3 separate regions of the Homo sapiens genome follow, and regions 2 and 3 are each linked to region 1. The links are contacts of gene promoters, found by promoter capture Hi-C in human tissues and cell types (Jung and others, 2019). All regions are on one chromosome and are shown on one strand. Each heading gives the region's core, a stretch centred on a gene start or on the middle of the fragment in contact. The rest is flanking DNA. Distances are from core to core; before and after follow the strand shown. Region 1 holds the start of FAM171A1 (family with sequence similarity 171 member A1). Region 2 has its middle 40 kb from the start of MEIG1. Region 3 holds the start of LOC105376431 (a long non-coding RNA gene).

The links. The method cuts DNA at HindIII sites, captures the fragments that hold promoters and counts their contacts. A contact is called where the count stands out against the background at its distance.
Region 2: a contact is called between a fragment that was not itself captured here and the fragment with the promoter of FAM171A1 in region 1, in 1 of the 25 tissues and cell types used here (liver).
Region 3: a contact is called between a fragment that was not itself captured here and the fragment with the promoter of FAM171A1 in region 1, in 1 of the 25 tissues and cell types used here (bladder).

What each region holds. Positions count from the first base shown.
Region 1 is chr10:15,369,275-15,374,354 of GRCh38, forward strand. It overlaps FAM171A1 (family with sequence similarity 171 member A1), which reads right to left and starts at 2,015. Exons shown (of 8, transcript NM_001010924.2): 1 at 1,682-2,015. The coding sequence starts at 1,778. RefSeq lists silencers at 1,772-2,001, 2,012-2,061, 5,042-5,080. The HindIII fragment of the contact is 11,349 bases long and covers 1-5,080 here.
Region 2 is chr10:14,996,538-15,001,617 of GRCh38, forward strand. It overlaps the pseudogene OR7E26P. Among named protein-coding and RNA genes, the nearest start is that of MEIG1, 40 kb to the left of the region's middle. The HindIII fragment of the contact is 6,058 bases long and covers 1-5,080 here.
Region 3 is chr10:15,108,829-15,113,908 of GRCh38, forward strand. It overlaps NMT2 (N-myristoyltransferase 2), which reads right to left. Exons shown (of 12, transcript NM_004808.3): 10 at 3,968-4,135; 11 at 874-1,011; 12 at 1-387. The coding sequence ends at 367. LOC105376431 (a long non-coding RNA gene) reads left to right here and starts at 2,700. Exons shown (of 2, transcript XR_930693.4): 1 at 2,700-2,958. The HindIII fragment of the contact is 4,782 bases long and covers 1-4,741 here.

The DNA.
Region 1 (5,080 bases), core at 765-3,264:
TTTAATATTTCCATATATTGGTATTTCAAGTGCAAAAGGAAAAATTCAACTTGCTCTTTAAAATTAACGGCCTCGCTGAAGTGCAAATATCATTCTCTAAAATAGCTGATTCAAAAAAGCAGTAGGGTATTAATAAAAGAAGCTGCAATGCAACACTGATGATCTAATGTCCTAAACATTCGTTTCCTACACGAAGAGACATATAGGTCTTTTTGTATTTTGTAGCTGTCCGCTCTTCCATGATATGCATTACTAAAATTATACACAATTCATAACGGTCATATTCTACCATGGCCATAGAAGCAGCAATGCATTTAAGATATACCAGGAAATGATACTGCAAGTGCCAGAATATGAAAACCTTCAACTCAACATGTAGGCAACAAACTCAACCCAACAGAGTGTTGGCAGAGCCTTTCCTCCCCGTAGCAACATCGTGGTGGAAGCCCGGGCGTCTCTGCTCCCAGGCACCCTGAGCATGTTAGCCGAGGAAAGGGGGTTCCAGCAAGGAGACCCTCGGATGCAGCACTCCTCGTTTCTTTGGCCTGCAGGGCCAACTTTGCAGGACACACACCCTTCTGAGGGGACAGGCCTCGGGCTCGGAATCCCGGGGTTCTGCAGGGCTGCAGGGAGCTCCCTCGCAGAGACCTGAGCCCCCGGCAAGAGTCCAGGCAGCGGTGCCCTGGGTGAATGCAGAGGCTCATCTGCGGGCCTCAGTGGCCCTTTTGAAAACGCCAGCAACAGAGGAGTCCTCGACGCTGTCCCCACAAAAATGTGCCAAGCAAGCCTCAGGGTGGGTGTGGGGGACTCCCCTCAAAAAACGCTGATTTTAAAAACAAAAGACAGGCTCGTGGCCATTCTCAGAGGCGACCACGTTACTCCCAGGGCTGGAAAGCAGATTTGTGGAGGCCAAAGACGAGACAAAAGGCACGAGCTGGCGACAAACTGATCTGGAAAGGATTTTTCTTTTTTTTTTTTTTTTTTTTGGTGAGCGATGAGGGCCTCCCAGTTCAATTCTTTCTTCCCTTACAGAGAAGACTCATGGGCCGCTGAGCAAATCCCTTATGGTCTGGAAGAGACGTCAGATAGGCAGGGGGAGAGAACCCCCCAAACTTTCCCAAACTGCGGCAGGCTAGTGGCTAGTGGCGGCAGCGGACCTCGGGGCCCCGGGACACAGGGGGCACCCCGGGGCGTCAGCCACCCCCTCCCGCCACAACAAAAGGCCCCAGCGCAGCCCAGGAGCTGGGACTTCCCAGACCCGAGCCCGGCGTGGGGAGCCGGGAGCGCGATCGGGCGGCGCGCCCTGGGCGGCCCCTCTGTCCGCGGCGACATGGGAGACAGAGCCGCGTGTCCGAGGCGCGGCATAAAGGGGACCCCCGGGCGCATCCAGACGAGCCCCCGCCGCAGCGGCGACAGCAGCTGGAGCTGCCCGCGCCCCCGCCCGACCCAGCCCCCGATCCCCGGCCCCCGAAGCCTCCGCCCGGGTCACCCCGCGTCGCCGGCCCGCGCCGCCCCCTCGGGAGCGCGTTGCGGGTGCTGCAGGCCCGGAGGCTCCCGATGCGGCTCGGGCTGCGTCGCCACCACGCGGCCCGGGACCCTCCCGCCGCCGCCGCCGCCGCCGCCGCCTCCGCGCCAGGCCCGGCGCGACACAAAGCCCCCGGCCCCGCCGCCGCCCACTGACCTTGGGCTCCGGCGCCGGGCTCCCGCAGCGTCTTGGTCACCGCCTTCCAGACGTGGCAGCCCAGCAGGCACAGCAGCAGCGTCGCGGACCTGCTCATCTCCGCCGCGGGGCCGGCGGCGGCTCGGGCTCGCCGAGAGCGGGCCGGGCGGCGGCGCGTCACGGGCGGCCGGGCGCCGCGCCCCCCTCCATGTCGCTGGCTCCGCGCGCCGGGCCCGCCGCCCGATTGGCCCGGCCCCGCCGCCCCGGCCGCTCCCTCCCGCGCCCCGCGCCGGGTTTCCCCGAAGAGCCGCGGCGGCGGCGGCGGCGGCGGCTGCTGCTGCTCCGCCAGCTCCTTAACCCCTTCCTGCCTCGCCCGCCGCCGCCGCCGCTGCCCGCGCCCAGGCCCCGGGCCCGTGGTGCCACCTGGCGGCTGCGGCGCCGAGGGCGCCCCCGCCCGGCGCCGCTGCGTCGCGCCCCCAGCCCGACCCCCGGCGACACTGCCCCGGCGCGCCCCATCCCCGCAGCCCCGCAGAAGAGCCAGACCTGCCTTTCAGGGCGGAGCCCTTTTCATCACACCAGGTCACCCAAGGGGCCGCAGGAGACATTGTATCTGGGTGTGACCCCCCCACCAGGTGCCATCCTAATGTAGTTGTGTCCCCCAACGTAGATTTCACACCCAGTGTTAAAGATCCGCAAAAACACTCCCCAAGCCAGTATAGACTGCAGTAGGCCTGCAGTACCTACGTGTTGGCGGGTGGACAGCTTCAGGAGGAATGGTACTTGGATGGTTCTAGGGGTTAGGGTGGGGAGGAAATCCACATCTTTTGAGGCCCTAGGTGCTTTAAAACTTTCTGTCCTATTAAAGAAAAAAGACTATTCCATGACACGTGTGAAAGCACAGCAAAGAAGACCCTCTTTGGAACCATCGCAATAGGTATAAGCCCTACCATGGGATTCTGCAGTCGGGGAGAAAGGTTGGGTTCAACTCTGAATACAGCAGGAACAAGTGGGGATTTATAACCGAGGACCAGGGTGGGATGCAGGGAATGAAAAATTATAAGAGGAAACATCAGGGGGAAGGGGGATTCTTGAAAGTCAGACATCCCCTGGCAGGGCTGGGCAGGACAGGGCGGATGGGGAAGCTGATCAGATATCCAGGGTGGAGGGTTCTTGGTAAACTGACTTAGCAGGGTTCTTCCTGAAAGCAGATTTTACAAGGAAGGGCACAACTGAGCCTAGAAGAAGGTTCCGGAGCCTGACTGTAGTTCGGTCAAGCAGAGACTCTTTGTCCATCTTCACAATACATGATCTAAGAGGTAGTTAGCATTATCCCCCCCATTCACAGATGAGAAAAGAGGCTAAAGAGGGTTAAGGAATTTGTCCAAAAGTGCATACCTGGTCAGTGGCAGAGCCAAAATTCTAATAAAACAGTCAGTCTGACCCCAAAATTGAAACTCTTCACAAAAACCTCCAGACTTGGCTGGGTGTGATGGTTCATGCCTATAATCCCAACACTTTGGGAGGCTGAGGTAGGTGGATGGCCTGAGTTCAGGAGTTAAGAGACCAGCTGGGCCAACATGGTGAAACCCTGTCTCTACCAAAAATACAAAAAAATTAACCAGGCATAGTGGCCCATGCCTGTGGTCCCAACTACTCAGGAGGCTGAGGTGGGAGGATCGCTTGAACCTGGGAGTGGGGAGGTTGCAGTGAGCCAAGATCGTGCCACTGCACTCCAGCCTGGATGACAGACTGAGACCCCGTCTCAAAAAAAAAAAAAAAAAAAAATCAAAAAATAAAACCACCAAAAAAACCACACACAAAACAAAACCAAACCTCTAGACTTTCCTTGAGCCTAGGGACCCCCTCCATTCCAACCTCAACTTTTCTTTCTCTCAACCCACTCCTGTCGGTATGCCTTCCACACAACCTTCACCTCCACTTGTCCCTCTCCACCTTCTCTTCCAACTAGCACTGCGGTGACCTTCCGACTTCCACTGGGGACCTAGGAAAATCCACTCCAGACCCATCATCCACCCCACACTGCTTCCAGAACACCAGGCCAGAAGGAGGGTTATTACTGTAATTTCATTAATTGAGCATTTAGACATGGCAGGCACCGTACCAAAAAAAGAATGAAGGATGGCACTTGCCCAGTTGGCTTATAAAAGACAAATGACTGTGAGACATGAGAAAAACTAGGACGTACAGAAGCCCATATGGGTTTTATAGTCACCCTTAGGACCAATGCTGCAATTTGCGCAAATCACGCACCTGCACAGGGTGGCAGGTAGTCAGGAAGGCAGAAAGAAATAGGGACTGCTGGATTCCCTCCTTCTTCTGATTCCTGCATCTAAGCCTAATATATGGCATCAAAGTTCCTAATATATGGCACTCACTGAACTGGAGCTATTTCCTCATAACAACTTATTTGGTAGGTATCATTGTTTCCATTTCACAGATGAACAAACCGAGGCTTGGTGCCATTAAACAACTTGCCCACAATACAAAGATCTGATAAGTGTAAATTCCCTATACCATGTTACTTCTGAGAATAAATTTTATGCAAATGATTCAAATTACCTCCAGGAGTGTCCAAATTGTTTGAACCTGCTCTAATCCCAGTGAAGTGCAAATCTAGTGAATACTATGGTGCCAATGTTCATTTCCTGGCATTGACAGTGTACTACAGTTATATAAGATGTTACAATTGGGGGAAGCTGGGAGAAGGATAGATGTGACCTCTCTGTACTATTTTTGTAACTTTTTATGAGTCTATAATTATTTCAGATGGAAATATTTAAAATAGAAAAAAAATCCCATTCTATGCCATTTTTCTAAGTCTTATTGTTCACTCAAAACACTGGTGTTTGTGATCTTAGTATAGAGTTCCAGAATGTTTCAGGGTGGAAGAAATCTTAATAAACTGAATCAAGTTGGGTTCACAATCTTAACTGTATCAAGCTTGTCCAACCTGCCTTATTTTGTTGTTGTTGTTGCTGTTGTGTTTTTAGACTTTTAGCAGCCTAAAGCCATCGTTTTCAGTTTCCATCTCTAGTGATAAGTGGAAAAGAGGGATGAGGAAGGGGCTTTACTGGCTCAACCAAAAATAGAAATGAAGAACCCATGACTGTATTCTCTCCCTTGGACACCCCTGCGAGACGCTCAGGTCTGATGGAGGTGGTTGTTATTATCGTGTATAACAATACTTTCCAGGACGAATTGGAACTTTAGGAGAAGTTTATGTACCCTCATAGCAACACTGAGTCTTGTCTAAATAGTTTCAGAAACACCGCTGCCATCCCATTTTGCAGATGCCCTTGTGAAAGAGAAAGAGGTTAAACAATTTGCATAGTACATTCTGCAGGCCAGTCTCAAAGCCAAAAACAGGGCTGGGGCCCCAAAGAGTATTATCTCATCACC
Region 2 (5,080 bases), core at 1,413-3,912, 370 kb before region 1:
TCGGTTCACTCCCTGGGACATTATCTTCCATATTCTAGCAAGATGCGGCTGATAAAGTCGCAGGGGTATACACCCTTCAATATTATTCGTAATTTTGTAGGGGAATGTTAGACCTGATGTCACAGGACTCTGTACACTGTGATGTTATTCCCAATATTCTAGCTTTACCTTAATCATAATGTCACATTGTGTGTACACCTTGTGGTGTTATTCTTATTCTCCTAAAGGGAGGTTGCATTTATTGTCACACGGGGTATGTTCCTTTTGATATTATCCATAATGTCCTAGAGGGATGTCACCCCTTATGTCACAGGGTTTGTACGCCTTGTCCAATTACTCTTATTATCCTCATAAGATGTCACTCCTCATATCACAGAGGGTGTACACTCTGTGATATTTTTGTCATATTCTAGGGAAATGTTACTTTTAATGTCACAGAGGGTGCACACCTTGTGAAACTATTCTTTATAATTTTGTGGGGTGTTACCCCTAACGTCACACGGCGTGTTCACACAGTGATGCTACGTGCAATATGCTATGGAAATGCTGCTCGTAATTCACAGGTCCTGTACACCCTTTCATATTCTTCGTAATCTAGGAAAACGTTACTGCTAATGTCACAGGGCGTGTAGATCCTGTTATCAAATTCCTAATATCCTAGCGGGAGTTCACTACTCATTTCTCAATGCGTGTACACCCTTTGATATTATTCATATTGTCTTGAAGAGATGTTACTACTGATGTCCCAATGCGGGTACATTCTCTGATCTTATTCGTTATATCCTCGGGGGATGTTACTTCTAATGTCACACGGGGTGTACTCCCTGTGTTCTATTTCATAATATCCTAGGGCAATTTGACTTTTAATGACACATGGGGTGTACACATTGTGATATTATTTGTGATATTCTAGAAAGATATTACTCCTAATGTCACAGGGCTGTACAGCCTGTGATAGTATTCATAATTTCCCAGGGGTCTATACTCCTATTGGCACAGACGATAACACCCTGTGACATTATTTGTAATATTCTAGCGAGATGATACTCCTCATGTCACAGGTGGTGTACACCCCGTGTTAGTATTCTTACTATTCTAGGGGGATGTTACTCCTAACATCACAGGGAGGTACACCCTGTGATATTACTCATAGTGTACCAGAGGGATATTAGCACTCATGTCACGATGCATGTACACTTTGTTATATTATTTGTCATATCCTAATGTCACAGGAGGTGTGTTCTGTGTGATATTCTTCCTAACATCCTAGACGGATGTTGCTCCTAACGTCACAGGGTGTGTACATCTTGTCAAATCATTCACAATATCCTAAAACTATGTTATTCCTCAGGTCACAGGGGGTGTTCACCCTGTGATATTTTTCATCATAGCTTTGTGGGATGTTACTCCTAAAGTCACATGGGGTGTACACAGAGTCACACAGTGATATGAGTTGTAACATTCTATAGACATGTTACTCGTAAATCACAGGGGCTGTACCTCCTTTGATATTATTCATAGTATTCTAGGGGAATGTTGATACTATTGTCACGGAGGTGTACACCCTGTGATGTGACTCGTCATCCCAGCGGGATGTTACTACTAATGTCACAATGCCTGTACACCCTGTGATACTATTTGTAATATCCTAAAGAGATGTTACTACTAAGGTCACAGTGCATGTACACCCTCTGATATTATTCGTTATATCCTTTGGGGGTGTTACTCCTCATGTCACATGGGGTGTACTCCCTGTCATATTATTCGTAATATCCAAGGGGGATGTTATTTTTAATGTCACCGGGGGTGACATTACGCATTAAAAATGCGTATTCAACCCCAGTGATACTATTCCTAATATCCTAGGGGCATGCTCTTCCGAATGTCACATGGGGTGTACACCATGTGTGTACACCTGCTGTGATATTATTCGTAATATCCTAGGGAATTGTTACTCCTGATGACACAGGTGGTGTACACCTTGTGTGTACCCCTCCTGTTTTATTATTCATAATATCCTAGGGGGATGTTTCTTTTAATGTCACAAAGAGTGTACAAAACGTCACAGGAGGTGTACACGTTGTGGCGTGATCTGCAATACCCTAGAAGAATGTTACTCCTAATAAGTCACAGGCTTGTACAAGCTTTGATGTTATTTATAATCTCATAGAGAGATATTACTTCAAATATCACAGTGGATGTACACACATAGTGTATACCCTGTGACAGTATTCATAATATCCTAGGGAGATACAACTCCTGATATCACAGTGCGTGTACCCCTGGTGTGTACACCCTTGATGTTAGTCGTAATATCCAGGGTAAATATTACTCCTCATATCACACAGTGTGCACACCCTGTGATATTTTTCATCGTACTTTAGGGAGATATTGCTTCTAATATCACAGTGGGTGTACCCCATGTGTGTATACTCTGTGACAGTATATTCTATATCCTAGGGAGGTATTACTCCTAATATCACAGTGGGTGTTCACCCTGTGACTTCATTCTTATTTGACCTTGCTGCCTTTTTTAACCCACACTACAAAAGGAATGGAACAAATAAGAAGATATTGAGATGAGATCGTGCTGCCATGTGGCCGCTGCAGGACACTTTTCATATCCCTGTTTCTCAGGCTGTAGATGAAGGGGTTCGGCATGGGGATGACCACCGTGTACATCACTGAGGCCACTGCAGCCTTTCTCGGGGAAGATGACACATCTGAACCGAGGTAGCCTCCAATGCCTGTTCCATAAAATCAGCAAACAACTGACAGGTGAGACCCACAGGTGGAGAAGGCCTTATACTTCCCACCTGATGATGAAACCCTTAGAATGGAGAAAACAATTTTATTGTAAGAGAAAAGGGTCCCCGAGATGGGAAGAAAACCAAATATGGCGGCAGGGAAATACATGATTATGTTATTGGTGAAGGTGCCACAATATGCAAGATGGGGAGTTGAGAAGGGTCACAGAAGAAATTAGGAATTTCCACATCCTTGAAGCAGGTCCTTTGTAAGGCAATCAAGTTGTGCAGCTGGGCGTCTAAAAGACTGAGAAAAAAAAAAGACAACAAAACTAGAAAGCCACAGAAACATGGGTTCATGATGGCTGAATGATATAGAGGGTGACAGATGGCTACAAACCGCTCATAGGCTATCACACTCAGGAGCATGTCTCTCTTCCATGCCTCCAAAAATGGCAAAGAGAGACATCTGAGTCAGGCAGCCTGCGTAGGAGATGACTCTGCTGTGAGACTGGATGTCCACAATCATCTTGGGGACCGTGGTGGAGGTGAAACCGATGTCAGGCAGGGACAGGTTGGAGAGGAAGAAGTACATGGGGATGTGGAGGTGGGAGTCAGGGCTGACGGCCAGGATGATGAGCAGGTTCCCCAGCACCGTGACCAGGCACATGGACAGGCACAGCCCAGTGAGGACCGGCTGCCATTCTGGATCCTCTGAGCTTCTAGGAGGAGGAATATAGAGACATCTGTTAGATTCTGTGGGTCTGTAGAGATTGGACAACTTTTGCCTAGAAAAGAGGGTTGAGAAATCGGAAACAAGTAAACCGACACCCAGCATCGTGTCTGCATTTTGGATAGAAGCAATTCACAAGTCATGTTTTCAGATTTCAGAGCAATCCACACTCAGCAATAGTTTGCACTTCTGACAATCTCAATTGTCTTCTAATGCTTTCATCATTGATTTCTGTGTGATTCACTTCTTGTTGTACACACCTGCCTCAGAGACACTAGATTCAAGAATGTTCCAAGAACGAGATCATCCTATATAACAAATTCGTCATTGCTAGAAAATACAGCCTATCTTTACCGACGGAAACTATGTAATCAAACCATTCTCTTCACTTTAAGAAAAAGGTTATCCTAATTAAAGGAAATTAAGAACTCAAATATTTTATTTTATTCGAATAGACTGATACAAATTCCCTTGATTTAGAACATCTGTAAACACCGTATAACTGCTGAGACCATGCCATCTGGAAATGAAATTAAAGTTGATAGTTCATAAGCAGAGAATAGTTCCACAGGCCGGTTGGATCCTATTGATTTCATCATTCTGTTTTCTGACTTTTCACCTTCAAGAGAGGAATTGCTTCCTCAAATCTGTGGGTCTTGTTTTAAAATTCATGGAAGCTGTAACTCCTGTCCTTAGCTTTGGTGGACTTAGCGTTTTCATCAGAACGTTTGGCCGGACGCGGTGGCTCACGCCTGTGATCCCAGCACTTTGGGAGGCCGAGGAGGGCGGATCACGAGGTCAGGAGATCAAGACCATCCGGGCCAACATGGTGAAACCCCGCCTCTACTGAAAATACAAAAACTTCGCCCAGCATGGCGGTGCGTGCCTGTAGTCCCAGCTTCTCGGGAGGCTGAGGCAGGAGAATGGCTTGAACCTGGGAGGCAGAGGCTACAGTGAGCCCAGATCACACCACTGCACTCCAGCCTGGGCAAAAAGAGCAAAACTCTGTCTCGAAAAACAATTTAAAAAAAGTACACGCTCTGTCACACTGACGTCACACTGATGACAGCCAATTTTTGTGAACCAAGGAAGTGTCAATTCAATAATTCACATAGATGTTGACTTTGGCTATCTCCTATGTGCCAAGCGAGATATAGGCTCTGGGGAATCAGAAACAAAAGAGACTCACTTGTTCCTCTCACAATACTCAGGACTTACTGAGATAAGGACAAAAGAAAATGTCCTGTCTGGAATGCAGGGAAACCAGAACTTCAGGTCAGGGGATATTTCCGTTGAACCGTATGGAGTTTAAGCTGAAAATATTAACGAATGTATCTAAAATTCACTTTGCCTTGACTTTACGCATCCATCACACAGAGATCACGCAGCGGGCACCCACGATCGGTTTCATCGTCGCTCACTTCCATTGGATCAACTAGAAATCAACTCAGATGAGAGTGCTGAGTCTCAGAAGATGGACGTCTCACCCCTTGCCATACAGATAAGTAGAAAGGGCGGTATTGAAAATTAATGGCCAGACTCTAACTCCTGCATACCATACTTGATGGTCTCCAAACTCTCAAAAAGTTGTGGGGTTTTT
Region 3 (5,080 bases), core at 1,101-3,600, 260 kb before region 1:
ACAATAGCAAAGATTTTCTTACATGACTCTGTAACTTCTACTTAGTCCATAGAAAAACAGTCCCTTTTCTAAGGGTGAAAAAATACCTCTTCAAGAGACAGGCAAAAATTTGAAAATTACAAGAATGTGCTCTTTGTAGCCTTTCATCCCTCCCACAAATAGGTCAACAGTAAAAAAAGGATGAAGTTTAACATTCTAGCTAGAAACGTACAAATGTCACATGTGGACTTTTGTCATCTTTTCTGATTATCGACTACTTCAATTTCACTTGAGTTGTGCTTTTATTCTTCTTTGGAATGGCAGTTCCAGAAATCATTAAATATTAACAAATGATGATGTCAGAGTTCTAGAAATAAAAATATCCATCTATTGTAGTACTAGTCCAACCTGAAGGGAGGGAAGAAATGGAATAGTAAGAAAAATTAGATTGCAATGTAGTACAATAGATCTGTCTTTCTAAAAGCTGTCTTAAGGCTCAGCTCACACCTGTAATCCCGGCACTTTGGGAGGCCAAGGCAGGCGGATCACCTGAGGTCAGGAGTTTGAGACCAGCCTGGCCAACATGGTCAAACCCCATCTCTACTAAAAATGAAAAAATTAGCCAGGCATGGTGGTGGATGTAATCCCAGCTACTCGGGAGGCTGAGGCAGGAGAATCACTTGAACCTGGGAGGCGGAGGTTGCAGTGAGCTGAGATCATGCCATTGCACTCCAGCCTGGGGGACAGAGCGAGACTTCATCTCAAAAAAATAAATAAATAAATAAATAAAATGAACAAAAATAAAATAAAGCTGTCTTAAGTCTAAGTGAAGCAAGTATGAAATTGTCTAGGTACATTTGTTGAGTTTACAAGGGCTATATCCATTTCACTTACCTTTTCAGAATCTGTACCTGGACACCTCCAATTGTACAGGTAATACTGCAAATTGCCATCTCCTATACCAAACTTGAGTTTTTCCAAGAATGTCTTATTTTCCATCAAATCCAGTGCATTGAATACATCAAATCCTTTCTGCCAATTTAAAAAAGATTTAAAATTTAAAACAAAGGACTAGTGTTTTCTGTATTACATATCTCAGTTTAACAATTCTACTAATAGCTCGAATATGCATTTCTAATAGGATTTAACGTCCGTGATATATAGCATAGGTTAAGAATTCAGGGCCGGATGCTGTGGCTCATGCCTATAATCCCAGCACTTTGGTAGGCTGAGGTGGGTGGATCACTTGAGGTCAGGAGTTCGAGACCAGCCTGACCAACATGGCGAAACCCCATCTCTACTAAAAATAACAAAAATAAGCCAGATGTGGTGGCGCACACCTGCAGTCCCAGCTACTCAGGAGGCTGAGGCAGGAGAACTGCTTGAGCCTGGGAGGTAGAGGTGGCAGTGAGCCGAGATTGTGCCACGGCACTCCAGCCTGAGCGACAGAGTGAGACTTTTTTTTTTTCTTTCTTTAAAAAGAGGAAGAATTCAGTTGAAAATTGTCTTATAAAACTAGCAGTGTGGCTGGATGTGGTGGCTCACGCCTGTAATCCCAGCACTTTGGGAGGCCAAGGTGGGAGGCTCACTGGAGCCCAGGAATTTGAAACCAGCCTGGGCATAGGCTGTAGGTATAGGTGTAGGTGTAGGTACAGGACATTGTCTCTACAAAAATAAAAAGATTGACTCGGCATGGTGGTGTGTGCCTGTGGACCCAGCTACACAGGAGGCTGAGGCAGGATTGCATAAGCCGAAGAGGTCGAGGCTGCAGTGAGCTGTGATTGTGCCAGTGCACTTAAACCTGAGCAACAGAGTGAGCGCCTGTCTCAAAAAACAAACAAACTATAGTGAATCCAATGAAGTCAGCATGAAAATTCAGAAACGCTGAATCCCAAAAATGTTAAAAATGTAGTATGATGGCTGTCACTGGCATAAAATTACTTATGAAGATTTCAGAAAATATTTTATTTATGTTTTATTTATTTATTTTTAAATTTTTTTGAGATGGAGTCTCACTCTGTCATCCAGGCTGGAATACAGTGGCATGATGTCGGCTCACTGCAACCTCCACCTCCCAGATTTAAGCAATTCTCCTGCCTCAAACTTCCTAGTAGCTGGCATTACAGGTGTGCACCTCCATGCCCAGCTAATTTCTTTGTATTTTTAGTAGAGACCGGGTTTCACCGTGTTGGCCAGGCTGGTCTTGAACTCCGACCTCAAGTGATCCACCTGCCTTGGCCTTCCAAAGTGCTGGGATTACAGGCATGAGCCACTGCACCCAGCCTCGTTCTTGTTTTAGAAGGGAACAGTTGTCAAGATGGTTTCATCTCCAGGATTATTAATTATTAGCCTTTCTAAGTCCTACCTTGGCTGAAGCTATTGCCCAGGGACCAAAGTTGTAAAGACTTTAAATAGTATGCAGGCCGGGCGTGGTGGCTCACGCCTGTAATCCCCGCACTTTGGGAGGCCGCAGCAGGTGGATCACCTGAGGTCAGGAGTTCGAGACCAGCCGGGTCAATATGATGAAACCCTGTCTCTACTAAAAATACAAAAATTAGCCAGGTGTGGTGGCACACACCTATAGTCCCAGCTACTCTGGAGGCTGAGACAAGAGAATCACTTGAACATGGGAAGCAGAGGTTGCAGTGAGCCGAGACTGTGCCACTGCACTCCAGCCTGGGTAACACAGCAAGACTCATCTCAAAAAAAAAAAAAAAAAAAAAAGTATAAAAAAATAGTATGTTTGCTTTGGGCTGATAATGGGAAATATATTTATGTAAAATTTTAATGGTAAAAAATTAAATTTCTTTAAAATGTCAGACAATAATACTATGCAAAATGTGATATAGAAGAAGCACTTTTTATTTTTATTTCTCAGGGTTTTTACCTTAAATAACTAATTACTGGCCATATTTGGGAAGTGTTGAAAAAAAGCAGACAATCTGAGGATGATGTTGACTTGGGGATCCAAAGGCACAGGTAAGAGATTTTTATTTTATTTTATTTTAATTAATTAATTAATTTGAGACAGGGTCTCACTCTGTGGCCCAGGCTGGAATGCAATGGTGCAATCTCGGCTCACTGCAACCGCCAACTCCCAGGTTCAAGTAATCCTCTTGCCTCAGCCTCCCGAGTAGCTGGGATTACAGGTGTGTGCTATCACACCCTGCTAATTTTTGTATTTTTAGTAGAGACAGGGTTTCACCATGTAGACTGGCTACAATTAAATTTTGAATTTCATTCCTTTAATTTTAAAATTCAGAGACTATTTGGTTGAATAAAAAAATTGCTGCTAGTTATTCACTCAACAAAAATATTCACTCATGTATTAATATTTTCCTTATATTACTTCCTAAGATATGGGCTTTATATATATATATATATATATATATATATATATATATATATATTTTTTTTTTTTTTTTTTTTTTTTTTTTTTTTTTTGAGACAGTTTCTGTCACCCAGGCTGGAGTGCAGTGGTGCAATCTCAGCTCCATTGCAACCTCTGCCTCCCAGGTTCAAGCAATTCTCCTGCCTCAGCCTCCCGAGTAGCTGGGATTACAGGCACACACCACGAAGCCTGGCTAACTTTTGTATTTTTAGTAGAGACGAGGTTTCACCATATTAACCAGGCTGGTCTTAAACTCCTAACCTCAGGTGATCCACCCATCTCGGCCTCCCAAAGTGTTGGGATTACAAGCCTGAGCCACCATGCCCAGCCTTATATATTCTTATATAAGGATTAAACATTTATAATTTGTACATTTTGTCTTTTTTGTTAAACTGCCATAAAATTAATGATGAAAATAGCCTCTAAAGTTTCAAAAGAAACTCTTATCAAAATTCTTCCTTTGACTGATGATCAATAGTTTTTTTAAAGTCTCGCATAAATTCCACCTGTGTGGAAGAAAACACAGTAAGATGTCTTCTATAGTTTGGCACAGACATTTGGAGAACCAAACGGCGTGAACAGGAAGGAGTGGCTTACCGATTTAGCCAGGATGAGCGCGTCGCTCATGAGGTCCAGCAGGGGCGTCTCTGTGTGGATGTTGTAGAATGAGTAGGCGGCTTTGAGGCTCTTGTGAGCAGGGTGGTGCATCACCGTGGAGGGGAGCGTATAGAAGCTCAGGAAATCAGTCAGTTTACCGTTGGGGCTCTAGGAGCAAAAGTGCTGTCAGACAGAGATCTCCTTGAACCAACTGCATACGTGCATTTCCACTAACTCTGTTCTCTCCCTTGCCCCAGAGAACGAAAAGCAGTAAGTCACACTTCTTTCTCGGCAGTCCAATTTGGGGCCCCTTATATTGTGCTGTGTAGAGGCCAAGAAGGGCCTGGAGTTGGGACTTCAGCCTAAGTGCCCATTGGTGATTTGCACAAAGTTCTTAGGAAGCAGAATGTCATGCCTGTAATCCCAGCACTTTGGGAGGATGAGGCGTGTGGATCATGAGGTCAGGAGTTCGAGACCAGCCTGACCAACATGGTGAAACCCCATCTCTACTAAAGATATGAAAACTTAGCCAGGTGTGGTGGCGCACACCTGTAATCCCAGCTACTTGGGAGGCTGAGGCTGGAGAATCGCTTGAACCCCAGAGGCGGAGGTTGCAGTGAGCCAAGATTGTGTCACTGCACTCCAGCCTGGGCGACAGGATGAGACTCAAAAAAAAAAAAAAAAAAAAAAAAAAGAAAGAAAGATAGAAGCAGAATGTCCTAAAAGGAAAGCTTCCCTCAGGCTGACAAATGAGTCAATTCTTTAGACTAAGGGAACAGTGATAAAAGCAGATTCATTGTTTTTGCAGAAATAAAAGCTTTAAGGATTAGAGGGCTGCCTTCTCCAACTAAAAGATACTGTGTACTATCTCACACTGTCTTAGCACACAGAAAGAATTATATCAGGCCTAAGTAAGGTTGGGTAGAGTCTGGAAGCTGTTTGGAAGAGTTCGCAAGCTTGTGAAAGGTCTTACTACTGCACCAAAATATACACATGTGAACAACTGGAGAATTTTGCAGCTATCAAAAATAAGGGATACAATGGATGACATTCATTTCATCATCACTGGCAAAGCTTCCAATACAAGAAATTAGCCAGTATTGTTCGGGTTGT